Regions from separate parts of the Homo sapiens genome. Here all the other regions are linked to region 2. The links are contacts of gene promoters, found by promoter capture Hi-C in blood cells and fetal thymus (Javierre and others, 2016). All regions are on one chromosome and are shown on one strand. Each heading gives the region's core, a stretch centred on a gene start or on the middle of the fragment in contact. The rest is flanking DNA. Distances are from core to core; before and after follow the strand shown.

Region 1 (2,700 bases), core at 187-2,686, 180 kb after region 2:
GAAGTCATGAGGTTGCTTGATACCCAGCCTTGGTTCTGTGCCAAGCATTACTGCAGGATCTCCAGCCAGTTCAGCACGTTTACCTAGGACAGCTGGATCTGGGGGCTCATCCAGAAAGAGCTTTATTGGAAGAGAGAAAGGAAATATTTTGGTCTTTTAAGTTGAATGATACAGTAAACCACTTGATTCAATAACACTGGTTTTAGTCATTGAGAGTTGTCTCCAAGGAACCACTTTAAAATCCAAATCAGCTTTCAGTCTAAACATAACTTGATTAGTTTTTTTTTTCAGAGGGTCAGTACAGGATGAATTAAAAACCTAAAAATATGGTTCATAAATGTAAGCTAGATAAATTTTGTTTACATTTTTTCAATATCTTAGGTTCGATATACCTTTGGAATATTTAATTATATTTTGGATATAAATTGGACTTCATTTAGGGTGAGGGCAAACTTAAGCTGAGAAAATGGTTAAGAAATCTGAGTTTATTTAATTTATATGTAACCTTTTATAGTGGTGGGACTGTTTGGGTACAGAGATGTTTTATATTTATTTGCAGGGTATATCCGAATATTTTAAAAATTAATTGAATAACCAGTACTTCTAGATGATAAGTTTGTCAGCATGAGCAGAAATGAGAATTTCAGGATTACTTACAATTGACCACAACCTGGAGTAGGTGAATGAACATGGATTCAGTGGCACTTTACAGATCCGCTTGGGAGGGGCTGCTGTCATCAGCCTTTTCAGTAGAGCTGAGTGCCTGTTGTTTTAATGATGATGACTACTGTACCCTGTGTACCTGTTCCCAGAGCGCCTCCAAAATTAATTACTCCTCTGCACCTTTCCCAGTCATCTTAATTAGCTTGAGGGCCTCATTTTTTATGAACAAGAGTTAAGTATCTGTTAACTTTTTAAAGCTTGATAGAGATATAATTAACACATACTCTGGAAAGTTACTCTCTTTCACTGTCAAAAAATTGATTGATCACAGTTTTCCAAAATATGGTTCTGGATAAGATCCCTTAGGTTTCCCGAAATTTCAGCCTGGCTTGTTTTGTACCACGCAGGAGGTCATTTTGGGAGTTTGCTCTTTGGATTGTTCTTGGTAGAAGTCTGGAATCTGAATAGTTCAACCACAGTTGCATGGAACACTTTGAGTGTTCAACTGCATTATGTGGTCTTGATAAATTTTTAAAAATCCTATTTTGATAGTTTTTAAAAGTGGAAAACCATTACAAGAGTTGAGTGGATAGGGAATGTAAGAATGTAGTTTTAGAAAAATTCAATTATATTTGGTTATCACTGGTATTGTATTGTTATTGAGCTACCTTGTTATCATTTTAAGAAAAATAAGTTTATATACTGGGAACTATGTTGGGAAAATGTTGCCATAGTAACTTTATTTTTTATAATAGAATTTTCTATTTTTGACCAAACATAAAATATTTGGATATGGGCCAGGCATGATGGCTCATGCCTGTATTCCCAGCACTTTGGAAGGCCAAAGCAGGAGACTCGGTTGAGGCCAGTAGTTTGAGACCAGCCTGGACAACATAGTAAGATTCATCTCTACAAAAAAAAAAATTAGCCGGATGTGATGGCACATGCCTGTAATCCCAGCACTTTGGGAGTCTGAGGCAGGAGGATCCCTTGAGTCCAGGAGTTTGAGGCTTCCATGAGCTATAATCACACCACTGCACCCCAGCCTGCATGACAGAGTGAAACCCTGTCTCTAAAAAGTCTGAATATGAAAATTATATTGGCAGCATACTCAGACATAAACTCCAAAGTTGTCTCTACACTGATTTCACATCTGCATAATTTTCTGCATACCCAGCAGGTGAATTTTCAGTTTTTCTGGGAGACAATTTTGAAGAGATGGTGAAATAGAATGGGAAGTTAAGGAGGGGAGGTAAAATGTTTTAAATGAGAAGAACAAAAAAGCTTTAAAAGTCAATAACACTTTGGGAAGCTGAGGTGGGCAGATCACGAGGTCAAGAGATCGAGACCATCCTGGCTAACATGGTGAAACCCCATCTCTACTAAAAATACAAAAATTAGCTGGGCACGGTGGCTTGTGCCTGTAGCCCCAGCTACTCAGGAGGCTGAGGCAGGAGAATCTCTTGAACCCGGGAGGTGGAGGTTGCAGTGAGCCGAGATCGAGCCACTGCACTCCAGCCTGGTGACAAAGCAAGACTCCGTCTCAAAAAAAAAAAAAAAAAAAGTCGGTAAGAACGGCTTAAAAATGGACTGTTTTCTTTTCCTATGTGGCATTGGGTTGCCATGTAGACCTGTACCCCAGGTGCTTTGGGCATCTGAGCCTATGATCCATATTCAGCAGGCAGTAAAGAAACGGTCCTTGAAGATGAGTCCTTCCTGGTAATGCTTCCTGACCACCGAGGCACTACCAGAGATGTTATCCACACCAGGTCGAATGTGTGGATATCAGTTAACATCTACATGGGGTGAGATTGACTTTTGCAAACAAAAGGGAAAAGATGCACTAGAAAAACAGTACAAGTAATGACCACAAAAACATTGTTTGACTGAAATCCAGCTAGCTAAAAGAATCCTCAGCTCACTGAAGGAAGAGACTGAAAATAGGAAAGAAGTTCTGGTGATTTCATCCGAGGGAAATCCCCAGGCTTAGGTTTGACTTGGTTCAGGGTTGGAGGTTTATAGCCTCTTGTGTGATCC
Region 2 (2,700 bases), core at 1-2,500:
CTCACACCATGTAGCTTTCTTTCTGAAGAGAGGCATTATTAGATGTCATTATCATGCAAGTAGTGCCTTCACCAAACAGGCCTCGCTTTTCACTCCTGAAAAGAAGCCTCTTTCATATCCTCTGAAAGCCCCGAAATCAAGCCAAGATCCCCTCCTGCCTTCTCTAGGCCTCTGAGCCAAAGCCCTGAGGATGGAACCCACATCTGTTCCTACAGTATCTTCGGAATAAAGGAGTGGGTGAGGGGTCCAGTGGCCGCGAGGTCAGCCCTGCCTATACCCAGTTCCTGGAGGACCCAGGCCTGACCAAGTCCCCGGCCTCAGCAGGCGATCATGTTGGCAGGCTTGGATCTTCTCGGTAAGAAAACAATGGGAGGGAGGGGTTGGAAAGTGAACATTAATTATTCGGAAGAAAGGTTGTTTCTTGCTACCTCTGATGGGAAGCCACAGGTGCAATTTTAAGATGACTATGCTGTTGTTCTTCCAATACGTGGGCCTCTCCTATGACATTAGCTCTGCGTCTGCAGAAATGAGCCGGTTAGGCCCAGATTTTATCACTTCAAGAGCATGCTGGTTGCAGCTCTCTGTAAGAGCCTTTCTGAGCTGGCCTCAAAAGTTTTCTGCCCCTGGGGCCTTCAAACAGACCCGTGTTGGGTTGTTCAAGGCTCTGGTGTCTCCTGTTCTGTCTCATTTTGAGCAAACAAGAGTTCTGGAAAGAAGGGCAGCAAATCCACAGGACTGCTGCAAGGGTTTCCTGGACCCCTGCTGGCCACTGCTCCACCTCACATGCAGAGGTGAGGCCCAGTAGGGCCTGGTCTGCCTTCCCAGGCTGATGGGCCCCTTCCGCCTTTACACAGCTCTGTGACCAGCCTGGGCCACACACTGGTGGAATCTGCTCTCACGAGGCCTTCCCTGCCCAGTCCCCACAGGACCTCACCTAGGTATGGACCCCCGACCCCCGGACTCTCACAGTTTTTTCCCATTCTTGATTGCTCAACCAGTATTGCCATCCCATTAAAAGGAGGGGAAACTGAGGCCAGGCAAAGTCCAGGGACTCTTCCAAGGTTACATAAAGACAGGGAGGATCAGGGAAGTCCTGTCCAAGATGATAGAGTAAGCAGCTTCAGAACTAGAATCTTGGCCTCTGACTCCCAGGCTAGGGTTCCTACCTGCTACGTGAGAATTAACCTGAGGAACCTTCCTGGGCCTGGCTTCTAGCACCTTCCCTCATCTTCTCTTGCTCATTGAGAATCAGCCTCTAAGGGGAGAATTTCACATGATATGGGTTCCCACTGATATCCCCTCAGACCTTGGGCCCCCTCTTTGTTGACAGAATCAAGCCAGAGGGTGTAAATGGGCCCTTTGTTCCTACTGCCAGCCCATAGACAAAGGACAGCGTTGTCCTGCCTCTAAGCCCTGTCCCGAGCCCTGCCCACTGTCCACTGGAGCCATGCTCCTGCTGTCAACACTCCCCACCCTGACCCCTCAGGCAGGTCAGCTCAGGTTCCAGGCAAAGCCTCCAAGTGGCCCCAGTCCCTCATCTCTGTGGCTCCAGGCAAACTGGTCCTTCTCTGGGCTGCTATCCCCGAAAAGTGGGGGACAGCATGCTGCTGACACTTGGCAGCATAGGGTCTGTGGGCCAAAGCTGCCCCACCCATCAGGCTGGGGTCATAAAGGCACTTGGGGAGAGTGGGCTGACACTGAGCCACAAGGCATGTGCCACGCTCCTTAGGGTGGGAGGTCTTGTCACAGCACAGGGAGATTGGGGAGGCTCTGCCTCTCTGAGGTTTTAGTCACAGTAAAGAGAGCAGGAAGATGGACAAGATGACCCCTTCGAGCCCCTTCCAGGCCTGTGTGGCTGTGACCTCTGTGCCACACAGAAATACAGGAGCTGCTCTGTGCCTTGGCTGCCCAGACTGCTGGTTGTCAGGCTTGTTTCTTCCACAACACACAAATACTTACTAAACTCGACCATGTGTGGGCCCTACCCTCATGGAGCTTACAGTCCCCTCCCACAGGTGACAGGACAGGAATTCACAGGGCAGAGTGATCCCAGAGAGTATGTCTATTCGGGCTGGCATGGTTTGAACCCATTCCCTTCAGGTGACTCTGGTGGGGTGCCTGGGAGGAGGGCAGAGTGAAGAATCGGCCCTTTGCTCCTGCTCCTCCTCTTCCCACATTCTAGAACTGGGGAAATGAATGGGGCTTTCCAAACTGCAGTGCACACACAGAGCCCCTGCTGATCAGCCAGGTCAAGTGTGGGTTCTGATTCAGCAGGTCTGGGGTAAAGCCTGGGATTCTGCATTTCTAACAAGCTGCTAGGAGATGCCAGAGCCACCGATTCAGAGACCACTTGTAGTAGCAAGGCCTTAGAGCATATTTAGGAGTCACAGAGGGGTCTGCAGTTCTCGGAGCCCATCTAAACCACCCCTCTCAATGTTTAGTGGGGGAACTGGGGCCAAGAGAGAGGAAGAGACCTGCCCAAGACCACCGAGAAGTCAGCCCTCAGGATCACATGCCCCAGCCCAGTTTTCAGTACACTGCCCAGCTCTGCAGCCTTCCCTATGCCCTGTACTGCTAGAAAAGTAAGCTCAGGGTCTCACTGGGAAAAGTGGGGGCACAGCGGAGAGCAGCTTGGAACTCACATGTGGGCTCTGGGGGGTTGAAGTTGGGGGGCAGAGTTTACCTTCTGTCCTGGCTCCA
Region 3 (2,700 bases), core at 82-2,581, 150 kb after region 2:
TTGGCAGGCCTTAGTGATCAAGTGGGGAGGGAAAGAAAAGGGAAATTAGGGATGCCTTCTGGGGTTCTGGGTTAAGCAACTGAGAAACTGGTGATGCCCCTTATGTAGGCAGGGAACAGTGGGGGAGATGCTGGAATGGAAATGAAGGTGATATATTCAGTTGTGGAAATGTACAGTGTGAGGTGATGTCAAACGATGTTGAGGCTTGTGGCTATTTGGGGCTGAAACTCAGGGACAAAGGCTAGGTTGGAGATACAGCTTTGAGAAACATCACTTGTAGAAACTGACTGGAACTATGTAGTGGATAAGACTGCCTAAGGAGAATGTGATAGTTTCTCTTATGGCAGAGGAAAAGAAGCTGCAATGGAGACTGAGGGGAGAAAGAGACTAGAGATATAGGAAGAGGAAAACCAGGAGAGTGGGGGTTATGGCTTTTTTTTTTTTTTTAAACAGTGACTGAAAAGGACATACAGGACAGCAATGACAAATGCTGTTGAAAGGTCAAGGAAGGGGTGGGTGCAGTGGCTCACACCTGTAATGCCAGCACTTTGGGAGGCCGAGGTAGGCAGATCACTTGAGGTCAGGAGTTTGAGACCAGCCTGGCTAACATGTTGAAACCCTGTCTCTACTAAAAATACAAAAATTAGCCAGGCATGGTGGCACAGGCCTGTAGTCCCAGCTACTTGGGAGGCTGAGGCTGGAGGATCACTTGAATCCGGCAGGCAGAGGTTGCAGTAAGCCTCAGTGCCATTGCACTCCAGCCTGGGTGACAGAGCGAGACTCTGTCTCAACAACAACAACAAAAGAACAAGGAAGAATAAAGACTAGGTCTTTGAGGAGGGCATTTTCAGTGATATGGTGAAACAGGTATCAGAACTGCAGGGGACTGAGAAATAATGAAAGGTGAAGGTGAAGCAATGGAGTGTTCACATATAGACCACTTTTTCCATGAGGTTTGGTTGTAAAGGGGAGAGGGGAAAGAAGGTGGTAGCTGGAAGGAGAGGAGTTGTCTGGAGCTAAGGGACATCACTTTGATGGTTGCTCTTTCTTCAGTAACGGAGGTTCCTGGGAGAGCAAGCGGGGGAGGGGGGGTTGAAGAGTGGGAGATCTGGGGAGCATGCAGGATATTTGGAAGTTGATTTTGGGGGAGAGCTGGAGAGAGAGCTGCCTTGGCAAATAGGAGCGCTGAAAGGTGTTGAGGACCTAGTTGAAGTTGACAATGTATGTAGCACTGATCTGTGTGGTTGTGAGATTTTGTCCAGCAGCACTTAGAGCCAAGAAGCAGATTCAGAGAAGACAGAAGGTTGGATTCTTCCAGGATTGTAGTGCTGCCAGATGGGTGTTACTATCCTTCTAGTTATGCCAGAAAGATAACTGTGCAAGGAATATAAGTATATTGGGAAGAATGTGATGGAGGTGATAAACCCTGAACTCTCAGCTGATGGGGAAGGAAATGAAGACTCGATGGAGCTTATAAATAAAACAAAGTAGAGGGACAAATGAACTGGAAGTTTCTGCAGGCTAGAGAAACCATGAAAGGAATTCAGAGAATAGCAGAAGGACAGATGAAAGATCAGGTGTCTGCATTTATAACTTCAGAGGTGGAGCTCTTCTGTGGTCCAGGGTGTTACCCTAGGAGTGGAGGACTGAAGAGGACTGGAAGAGAAAGACTCTGGAGTTGACTGTGAACCTGGAGCCAAAGTGAACAATGATTGGAGATGAGAGCTAGGACTTTAGGTACTACATCTCACCCCTGTTGTCCAATCTACCATGGTGCCTGAACCACACCAGTTGCACCAGTCAGAGAGTGTAAGGTCCTGTTCTAAAGCACTCGCACCACAAGTTTTGAGAGCCCAATTCCCCATATTTGTTTGTTTGTTTTGTTTTGTTTTGTTTGTTTTTTGAGATGGAGTTTCGCTCTTGTAGGTCAGGCTGGAGTGCAATGGTGCGATCTCGGCTTACTGCAGCCTCCTCCTCCCAGGTTCAAGTGATTCTCCTGCCTCAGCCTCCCAAGTAGCTGGGATCACAGATGTCCACCATCACGCCCGGCTAATTTTTGTAATTTTTCAATAGAGACGGGGTTTTGCCATGTTGGACAGGCTGGTCCCTGACCTCGTGATCCACCCACCTTGGCCTCCCAAAGTGCTGGGATTATAGGTGTGAGCCACCACACCTGGCCCCAATTCCCCATATTTGAAGAGCACTTATGCTACAGGGTTTTCAATTGCCTTTACCAACCCTGAATCTCCTGGTTTTTCTCCTTCTTTGTGCCTGTTATGACCTACCCTCATTATCAGAGACTCATTGTGGGAGGGGACTACACAAGGGTATAAATCCCAGGAGGTGGTGAACCCTGGAGGCTATCTTAGACTGTATCACAATTCTCTTCAGTTTTCATTTTGTAATTTTTCTCTGGCTATGTAAGCCCCACTTCGATTTCCGCCCATATGATGCTGACTTTCAAAAGTCTATGTCCCGGCTAGGCGTGGTGGCTCACGCCTGTAATCCCAGCACTTAGGGAGGCCAAGGCGGGCAGATCACTTGAGGCCAGGATTTCGAGACCAAACTGGCCAATATGGTGAAACCCCCATCTCTACTAAAAATACAAAAATTAGCTGGGCGTGTTGGCAGATGCTTGTAATCCCAGCTACTTGGGAGGCTGAGGCAGAAGAATCACTTGAGCCTGGGAGGCGCAGGTTG

What was found. The method cuts DNA at HindIII sites, captures the fragments that hold promoters and counts their contacts. A CHiCAGO score of 5 or more calls a contact.
Region 1: a fragment that was not itself captured here is called in contact with the fragment with the promoter of CCDC13-AS1 in region 2 in 1 of 17 cell types (M0 macrophages); the score reaches 5.4 in M0 macrophages.
Region 3: a contact is called between a fragment that was not itself captured here and the fragment with the promoter of CCDC13-AS1 in region 2, in 2 of 17 cell types (M0 macrophages and M2 macrophages). The highest score is 7.2, in M0 macrophages.

The regions. Positions count from the first base shown.
Region 1 is chr3:42,550,396-42,553,095 of GRCh38, reverse strand. It overlaps SEC22C (SEC22 homolog C, vesicle trafficking protein), which reads left to right. Exons shown (of 7, transcript NM_032970.4): 7 at 1-2,700. Among named protein-coding and RNA genes, the nearest start is that of VIPR1-AS1, 19 kb to the right of the region's middle. The HindIII fragment of the contact is 1,027 bases long and covers 923-1,949 here.
Region 2 is chr3:42,731,125-42,733,824 of GRCh38, reverse strand. CCDC13-AS1 (CCDC13 antisense RNA 1) reads right to left here and starts at 1,250. Exons shown (of 4, transcript NR_046732.1): 1 at 1,167-1,250. CCDC13 (coiled-coil domain containing 13) reads left to right here. Exons shown (of 16, transcript NM_144719.4): 11 at 216-355; 12 at 855-938. RefSeq lists enhancers at 1-18, 19-704, 1,234-1,528 and a silencer at 1,234-1,528. The HindIII fragment of the contact is 15,297 bases long and covers 1-2,700 here.
Region 3 is chr3:42,584,333-42,587,032 of GRCh38, reverse strand. It overlaps a transcript of SEC22C not described here and a transcript of SS18L2 not described here. Among named protein-coding and RNA genes, the nearest start is that of SEC22C, 3.7 kb to the right of the region's middle. The HindIII fragment of the contact is 5,967 bases long and covers 1-2,700 here.